3 separate regions of the Homo sapiens genome follow, and all the other regions are linked to region 3. The links are contacts of gene promoters, found by promoter capture Hi-C in blood cells and fetal thymus (Javierre and others, 2016). All regions are on one chromosome and are shown on one strand. Each heading gives the region's core, a stretch centred on a gene start or on the middle of the fragment in contact. The rest is flanking DNA. Distances are from core to core; before and after follow the strand shown.

Region 1 (2,953 bases), core at 337-2,836, 220 kb after region 3:
TCAGGGCACTTTATTAATGATTTTAGTATATTTCTTTTACTGTCCCATTTACTTTTTTTGTTTAATTTTACCATGATCATTGCTTATATTTCTTTATTTTGGGATGAGTATTTCAGTTCAGCTTGATATGTATTGGGCACCACGATATGTTAGGAACCGTGCAGATGACACAGAGTTGACTCTGCCCTATACTGTGTCTTCAGGAAGCTCTCAGTGGATTCTTATTTGAATAGACTGGATGTGAAGTAGCATAGAGGTGGTGGGAGGGTGGTTAGGATCTGGCATTCTGGAAAGAAGCCCAAGCCAGCGACGGTTCTGGGAGCCACGGGATCCTGCCTGAGAATGGCCTCCTGAGAGTGCAGGAGAGGAGGAGGAGGAGGTGGCGGTGCTGGGGGAACCCAGGCAGTCCCGGGTGAGGAGGGGCACGTGCAGAAGCTTTGCCTAGGCCCCAGGGACAGAGCAGGGAACAGACTATTTCAGGCTTGTGTCCTCAGAGAGCTCACGTTGTAGATGGGGGCAGCAGACAGTCAACATGGAAAAGCCAGGGGGTTGCTCTGGGGAGAGATGAGGCAGGCTCAGAGGGCAGGTCTGGATGCGGGAGGAGCTGAGGAGGAAGAGAGACTGAGGGGAAGAGGGAGGAGGACAGGGAGGTAGCGTGGTAATGGGAGCTGGGGGCCAGGCCCCGGTGCGTGGTGATGGGAGCTGGGCTTGGAGTCTTCAGACCTGCTCTGCCCACCTTCCCTGTCCTCATGGATAACACCACCTCCCTCCACGTTGCTTCACTTGAGATGCGAGATTCAGTACTGGGCCTGGGAGGGCTGGGCCGACCTAGGCAGCTGGCCCTTCCCACTTTTCTCCCTTCATGACCACGCAGCCACTCCTGCAAAGCAGCAGAGCCCAGCGGTGCCTGCTTCCTGTCACCCTCCCTGCCCCTCCCTGTCTCGCCTCCTCCTAATTGGCCCCTGCTTCCACTCCCGCCCCCACATGGCAGCTGCGGGAATTTTCTTAAATCCCGAACCAGATTGTGTCATTTCTGCTTAGAATCTCTCCCTGGCCTCCCTGCATGATTGGAGTGAGAACCCAGCTTCTCCTCGCGCCGTGAGGCCTGCCTGAACGCTCTTGCGCCTGGCGCTCATTCCTTCTCTCCTCCCTGGCCCAGCCTGCTGCAGTCCGGTGGGCTTTCTGCTTAGAATGTACCTGGGACTGGTTTCCATTTAGGGGTGGTGAGGCCAGCGGATCAGGAGACAACTCAGCTGAGACCCTGTCTGTTACTCAGGGCTCCCAAGACGAGGGGTAGGCCATGTCCCACAGGCCACCTGGGGAAGCGCAGGGTTGGTCAGGAGGCAGGAGGGTGGAAGGGAGGCATGGGCAGAGACTTGATTATGGTTTTGTGGGAGGACTGGGCCAGGGAGGGTGGGCAGCTGGACGGGCTTGCGTTGGCCAAGGAGAGTCATGTCGTGGTCTCTGAGGTGCAGGGATGGCCCGAGGTGTCTGGTCACTGACCCTGAGAGACCATGGCAGAGGGTGGGACTCCTGGGGTGTGTGAGCCAGACAGAGGTAGTGGGGCATGTGGTCTCTGGACGGGTTGGTTTTCATGTCAGACACATTCTGATAGGCCTGCCATTTGCCACCCTAGGAATTAACCGGCTCTGGGGGACAGTCTTATCTCGTCACTGAGGCCCCAGATGCCAGAGCATCAGTAATACAGAAAATTAGAAAATACAGGCCGGGCATGGTGGCTTACCCCTGTAACCCCAGCACTTTGGGAGGCCGAGACGGGCGGGTCACTTGAGGACAGGAGATCAAGACCAGCCTGGCAAAACCCACTCTCTACAAAAAGTACAAAAATTAGCCGGGTGTGGTGGAGTGCACCTGTGGTCCCAGCTACTTGACAGGATGAGGCAGGAGGATTGCTTGAGCCTGGGAGGTGGAGGCTGCAGTGGCCAGACCTCCAGCCTGGGTGACAGACGAGACCCTTTTCTTAAAAACAAAAACAAAACACAGGTACTATAGCTAAATATAGTTCCTGCACTTCTCGCTGGCTCCTGGAGCACGTGTGCTCTCTTCCTCTCAGGACCTTTGAGTTTGCTGCTCCTCCTGCCTGGCTCCCTCTCCCCAAACTCCCTGTGGTTCTTCTCATGCCCCCCTTGTTCTCAGCTCAAGGATCATCTCAGAGAGCCTGCCCTGCCCTGCCCTGCCCCGCCCCACCCACCTCTCTCCCCGTTCTTCACCATGTAAGCCCTGTAAGGGCAGAGATTTTGTCTGTTCCTTGTTGTTTCCCTAGTGCCTGGAAATGTGCCTGGCAGAGAGTCAATGCGCAGAATAGATGTGTAAGTAACGTTTACTAAGTGAATAGGTGAAAGAAAGGTGGAGGACTCTTGTCTCAGGTAAGAACCTGTCACAGAAGAGAAAAGGCTAAAGCAATACTTGCTGTAAGTGGTAAAGCTCCGGGGCAGGGTCCTGCCTGTCTACACTCTGGCTGCCGCTCTGGGCAGGGTCCTGCCTGTCTACACTCTGGCTGCTTTGTTCTGTATTTGTAGCCATGATTTCTCAATTCTCAAAGATCTGCTTTTTGCTTTGCCAATGTCACCCCAAAATCTGGGAAGTTGAGGATTTAGTTTCTGGTTATATCAGGAAGGGCTCATTTGGTTGGAAATGATTAACAAACCCATCCAAAATGATTTACGTGAGAGGCGATTTGTTGACTCACAGCAAATCCACAGCCAGCATAAGCTTCAGGTGTGGCTTGAGCGAGGTCTCAGGTGATGTCCCCTGGACTTGTTCTCTCTCACCTGTTGGCTGCTGGGAGCCCTGGGCCTCATCCTGGCAGGCGCATGTGTCTCCTGTGGTCATGTCCTCTTGTGCGTCCTGGGCTCTGGCTGAGTCAGAAGCCTGTGTCTGTTCCAAGGGACTGCAGTCTTTCGTTGGCCAGGGGAGGGCCAAATGCTTTGGT
Region 2 (2,700 bases), core at 175-2,674, 160 kb before region 3:
CTCTGCATCTGATCCTGGGATGTCCTAGCCACCATGGCTTTCCAGCTGAGCAGGTACTGCCAGTCATGGGCATGTCTAGGCCGTGCAGGGGCCACTGTGGGTGGATTGTTTAGGGACATTTGGAAGGGAAGGGTGGGTAGAGGGGACTCGGCCCCTGTGCCCAGCAGGCTGGCTGGTGTCATGCAGCCAGGAAGGGCAGTAGGGCACCCACCTGGCCTGGCTCTTACTGACCCCCAAGATTAGGTGGTCAGCCGAAGCTGGGATAGGAAGTGCAGGCCTGCGTGAGCTGGGGTCCCCTGACGGACCAGGGCACTCCCCTGCCTGCTCTAGTCCCCAGGGAGGAAGGCACCTGGTTTTCTTTCCAGCCTTGCTCCTGTGGCTTCCCTCTGCTCCCTTCAGCTGGGCTGGGTTCACTGCGGTTTCCCAGCGCTGCTGAGCTTCCTACCTGCGGTGGAGGGGGGGTCTGTGGGCTGCACAAGGAGCCTCCTGGGTCAGTCCCCTGCCCCTGGCCAAAATGGAGGCTGGGAGCTCAGGGCCATTGTTGGCCTCTTCCCCCGTCCTGCTTGGGGGCCTGCAAGTGCTGCTGGAACTTTCCTTGGCACAGCCCTTCCTCCCACCCTTCCCTCTTCTGGAGATGCAGTGGCGTGTCTGTGGGTTGAAGGGACTTCGCCGGAACTGCCTTAGGCAGCAAGTCAAAGAGGAGAAGCAGGGGCCAGACTCTGTGACTCACGCCTGTAATCTCAGCACTTTGGGAGGCCGAGGCAGGTGGATCAACTGAGGTCAGGAGTTTGAGACCAGCCTGGCCAACATGGTGAAACCCCCGTCTCTACTAAAAAATACAAAAATTAGCCAGGCATGGTGGCACGCACCTGTAATCCCAGCTACTTGGGAGGCTGAGGTAGGAGAATCACTTGAACCCGGGAGGTGGAGGTTGCAGAGAGCCAAGATCACGCCACTGCATTCCAGCCTGGGTGACAGAGCGAGACTCCCTCTCAAAAAAAAAAAAAAGAGGAGAAGCAGGGCTGCTTGAGCTTCTGTTTGGCAGAGTCCCCCATGGAAAGAGGAGGCATTTATGTGTGCTTGTGCCTGGACTTTGAGGCCCCACACCCATCCACGTGCCTGTTTTGTCCCTCAAGGCTGCCTGGTGTGAGGCCCCCGCCCCCCATGCCATAAGGAGACCCGCTTCTCCTTTCCTTCCGGGAAGGGCAACCCCTGTCCCTTGTCTACTCCTGGCCAAGGCAGCCTCTGCTGAGCTCCTGAAGGAAGCTCCGAGTGTCTGCAGGCCCCAGGTGGTGGCCCCCAGCCATGAGTGGCATCTGCAGCCCTATGACTGGGGACAGTCTGCCCAGACACCTCTGTCCCACCCAGCTTTCCAGCTGAGGTGAGGGTGGAGCACACGCACCTGGTGCTTGACCTCTGGTTTGAGGCCTTTGTCAGAAGGGGGCAGTAATGAGCCGCCTGCCCTGCAGGCCCCGTGTGGGCCTGACCTGCCTATACCCCAGACCCTTACCTGGCTGTGCACCTTCAGGTGGGCACTTTAGCTTCCACCATGGAGTAAAGGAAGCAAGGCTCACCTACCCCTGGTTACCCTGGGTTTCACGTAGTAATGTTTTCATTTTAGCACTGACTTTTTTTTTTTTTGAGGCGGAGTTTCGCTCTTGTTGCCCAGGCTGGAGTGCAATGGCGCGATCTTGGCTCACCACAAACTTCGCTTCTTGGGTTTAAGCGATTCTCCTGCCTCAGCCTCCCAGGTAGCTGGGATTACAGGCATGTGCCACCATGGTTGGCTAATTTTGTATTTTTAGTAGAGACAGGGTTTCTCCATGTTGGTCAGGTTGGTCTCAAACTCCTGACCTCAGGTGATCCACCTGCCTCAGCTCCTAAAGTGCTGGGATTACAGGCGTGAGCCACTGCGTCCAGCCACAAAAGTGTAGTCGTCGTCGTCCTTTTTTTTTTTTTTGAGACACAGTCTCACCCTGTGGCCCAGGCTGGAGTGCAATGGCATGATCTTGGCTCACTGCAACCTCCGCCTCCTGGGTTCAAACAATTCTCCTGCCTCAGCCTCCCAAGTAGCTGGGATTATAGGAGCCTGCCACCACGCCCAGCTATTTTTTTTCTATTTTTAATAGAGACGGGGTTTCACCATGTTGGCCAGCCTGGTCTCAAACTCCTGACCTCATGATCCGCCCGCCTCGGCCTCCCAAAGTGCTGGGATTACAGGTGTGAGCCACTGCGCTTGGCCAGCACTGACATTTTTGTGTCAGAGTCAGAGACACTGGTGACACTCCCAGCTGGTCGTGTGCTGGGCTGTGGAAGGGGCAGGCAGGGTTCAGTGCCCTGCAGGGCTGCTGCCAAGGTCACCGCACAGGGGCCTGTCCAGGGCTGGCCAGGTGTGGGTGGCAGGTGCTGAGCTGGGCTGAGGGTGCTGAGCGGGGCTGAGGGTGCTGAGCTGGGCTGAGGGTGCTGGGCAGGGCTGAGGGTGCTGAGGGTGCTGCCGCTGCTGCCTCGGGGCTCCCCTGTGCCACTCAGTGCTGCTTTCTTTGGGAGCATCAGAGACCTCCGGGCATGGCCACAAACCAGGTGGCAGGTGACAACCGGAAGCAGTTTCCTCAGGCTGGAGACCAGCGGTGGGCAGGGCCATGCTCCCGAAGGTTTGACGGGAGGCTGCTCCCGTCTCTGCCTTCATCTTCACCTGGACCT
Region 3 (2,733 bases), core at 152-2,651:
GGTATAAAGATGTGTTTAGGTAACTGTCGGGGTATAATACTAACAGTAGCAACTGCAGGAAGTAGCTACCACTGGTAGGTGGTATTATTAAAATGTAGATGCTTGAGGAGGGGCACAGGGAGGTGAAACTCAGACATCTGAGGAGAGGGTGCTGCTCTGCTAGGGCTGGTGTCTCTGAGGAGAAAACGAGGCTGGTTCTGCAAATGTTGGAATAAGTGCAGACTGGATTCCACTGCTGCTTCCAGAATGTTCCAACTGCCACCTCCAGGATAAAGAAGCAAGAGTGGATGACACCAGACAGGACAGGAGCAAGCAGGAAGCAAAGCCCCCTATTGATAGAGCCAAACCGGGATCAGCTGGAAAGCAGAAGTGTTTGCAGAGGCCCAGCCTGATCATTATAGAGCCAAGAACAGCAGCTGGCTTTGGAGCTTGGTCAACCGGCTTGAGGCCTGAGTTGAAAGCTAGACCCATCAGCACAGTCTCTTCTGGTGATTGGACTTTTGCTAGGTGAGTACACTGAAGCCAGGTAAAGGGAGTGGAGAGTGTGTGTGCCACTGAGTGATTTACAATTCAGGATCCTGGAATATAATTCCGTGAGGACGCAGCGGGTGACTGGGTGCAAAGTAGCCCAGTTCAAGGGACCTGTGGGCCTGGGGATGAGGACCTTTGCTTCTCCACATGCGGTCCATGGACTCGCAGCATCAGCATCGTCTGAGAGCTTGTGAGAAATGCAGAATTTCAGGCCACTGAGACCGCTGGAATTGGAATCTGCATTTTCCAGATCTCCTGGTGGTCCTCAACTACTTACTGGTTTGGGATGGGAAACTAGAAGGCTTGGGCTGGGAAACTAGGGAGTGGTGATCAGCGAGGGGGCGGCCTGGCTACAGCAAAAAGGACAGGCACTGGGAGACAGCCCCTGGGCATGAGCTTCCAAGCTGGGGCTTTTTGAGGAAGCCATAGTGGTCTGGCATTGGGACCTCTGAACGAAATTTCCCGGTGGCTACAAGGAATTTTCCCACTTCCCCAAATTAGTAGATTCGATTTCCATCCCACTAGCTGGTAATTTACAGTATAGTGAATTTCCTTATTTCTTTTTTCTTCCCAAGACTTTCAAAAAGTAAAGCCAACCCCTTTATTTATCTTTGGGCTCGTCCAGTCTGGCTTCCCCCCTCCGATCGTTCGCAGTGGGACAGCCCGCCGGGCCTCCTTCCTTCCCCAGAAACCCTCCAGGCCTGGGAGAGGACGCGTTTTGCATTCAGGAAAAACCAATCGCTCCCCTATCGTACATAACCAAGAGAAAAGGTGGCGGACGAGGGGCGTGGCAAAGTGATTAGTGCGGCCTGGACCCTGCGTGCCTTGCGCGCTGCGGGCTCTTTGCGTCTGCGTAGTTCGCTCACCTCCCTTTCTAACTCCGCTGCCGCCATGGCTCCTGTGGTTAGTATGGCTCCGCGTGAGGCCTCGGCTCCAGGGGAGGCACGTGGGCCTCGCCGAGCCCGGCATCTACCCAGGCTCGCTGGGGACGGCGCCCTGCAGCGTCCTGCTGGGGTGGGCTGGCAGGTCGGCCGGAGCGGGCCAGAGCCCCTGCCGATCCCAGCACGTTGTAGGCGGAGGAGGCCGCGGCCCGAGGCTCGTGAGGGAGATCCGGGAGGTCTCGGAGGCCCGGGGCCCCAGCTAGGGGCTAGCGGGGAGCTGGAGCCTGGAGACTGCGGTCTGGGCCGGCCACTGGTCCTCGGACCCCGGCCGGGGGCCTGATTACCTGGGTGGAGGGCGGGGAAGAAGAACGGGACCTGCTACCCTGGGGAGCCGCGCATTCGGAAGTCCACGGCCAAGACTCGGGGACGAATCCGCGGAAGGGCGGCTTGGTCGGCGTGCTTTCGGAGAGGAGGCCTGGGTTTGAGGAGCTTTTTAGCGTCCCCAGAGGAAATTAGTTTATCAGGGCGCACTGTACAGACCCAAACGGGTGTTGCAGTGGTGTAGGGAGAAGGCTCTCATTGCATTCTCCTTTAGCTATGCTGGGACTGGGCTGTGCGGCGCCCTCCTCCTAGGTTATTTGAGAAAGTTGTTTTTCCGTGTTCTTCGTCCCAAGATCCTACTTTTCCTCTTTTGTTGGGACTCCCTGGTTAACATTTCCGGTTCTTCTGCTCTTTCTGTCTGGTTGGGCTTTTGAATGCCTTTTGGTTTAAAACCTTGATGGAGAAGTATCAAGCCCGTTGTGGGTAGGTCTCTTGATTGATTGTGTGTGTTCGGAATAGATCTTAAAGTACCCCTCTTAGATTATTACTGCGAAGAGACGTTGTAAAAAATAAATCAGTGATTTTTGTAGTGGCCAAATGTTTGAAAAGTTGATCCAGTTAACACAAGTTTTAGATGAAGTTCTTTTAAACATGAAGGGAGGTAAGATGTGTTTTTGGAAAAGTCTATTTAGTTCTGCAGAGCTTTTAAACGTGAAAGTACAGGTTGGTACGATGCACAAGTGCATTAATGGTGTCAAGTTTGTAGAGAGATAAGATTAACACAAGCTTCTTCGTAAGAGTGAAGAAACTGGAACCTTGTAGGATGTGCTTTGCCGGGTGGTTTGGAAGTACTAATGCATAGATGAAGCGAATCAAAATGTCAGAAGTTCTTGACGGTAGTGTTGTAATAAGATTCTAGGTTTTAGCCTTAACCTTGTCCAAGCTGGAGTGGACAGGCACCTAGAATACTTTGCAACTCCCTTCATGAGAAGGTGGATGA

The links. The method cuts DNA at HindIII sites, captures the fragments that hold promoters and counts their contacts. A CHiCAGO score of 5 or more calls a contact.
Region 1: a fragment that was not itself captured here is called in contact with the fragment with the promoter of RPL22 in region 3 in 2 of 17 cell types (fetal thymus and monocytes); the score reaches 6.5 in fetal thymus.
Region 2: a fragment that was not itself captured here is called in contact with the fragment with the promoter of RPL22 in region 3 in 1 of 17 cell types (erythroblasts); the score reaches 5.0 in erythroblasts.

What each region holds. Positions count from the first base shown.
Region 1 is chr1:5,978,585-5,981,537 of GRCh38, reverse strand. The region is part of intron 2 of NPHP4 (nephrocystin 4); the gene reads left to right. Among named protein-coding and RNA genes, the nearest start is that of NPHP4, 12 kb to the left of the region's middle. The HindIII fragment of the contact is 2,298 bases long and covers 438-2,735 here.
Region 2 is chr1:6,356,179-6,358,878 of GRCh38, reverse strand. All of the region lies in intron 1 of ACOT7 (acyl-CoA thioesterase 7), which reads left to right. Among named protein-coding and RNA genes, the nearest start is that of ACOT7, 36 kb to the left of the region's middle. RefSeq lists enhancers at 1-111, 812-1,779. The HindIII fragment of the contact is 6,351 bases long and covers 1-2,700 here.
Region 3 is chr1:6,198,263-6,200,995 of GRCh38, reverse strand. It overlaps RPL22 (ribosomal protein L22), which reads left to right and starts at 1,401. Exons shown (of 4, transcript NM_000983.4): 1 at 1,401-1,434. The coding sequence starts at 1,423. RefSeq lists a silencer at 1,510-1,649. The HindIII fragment of the contact is 15,793 bases long and covers 1-2,521 here.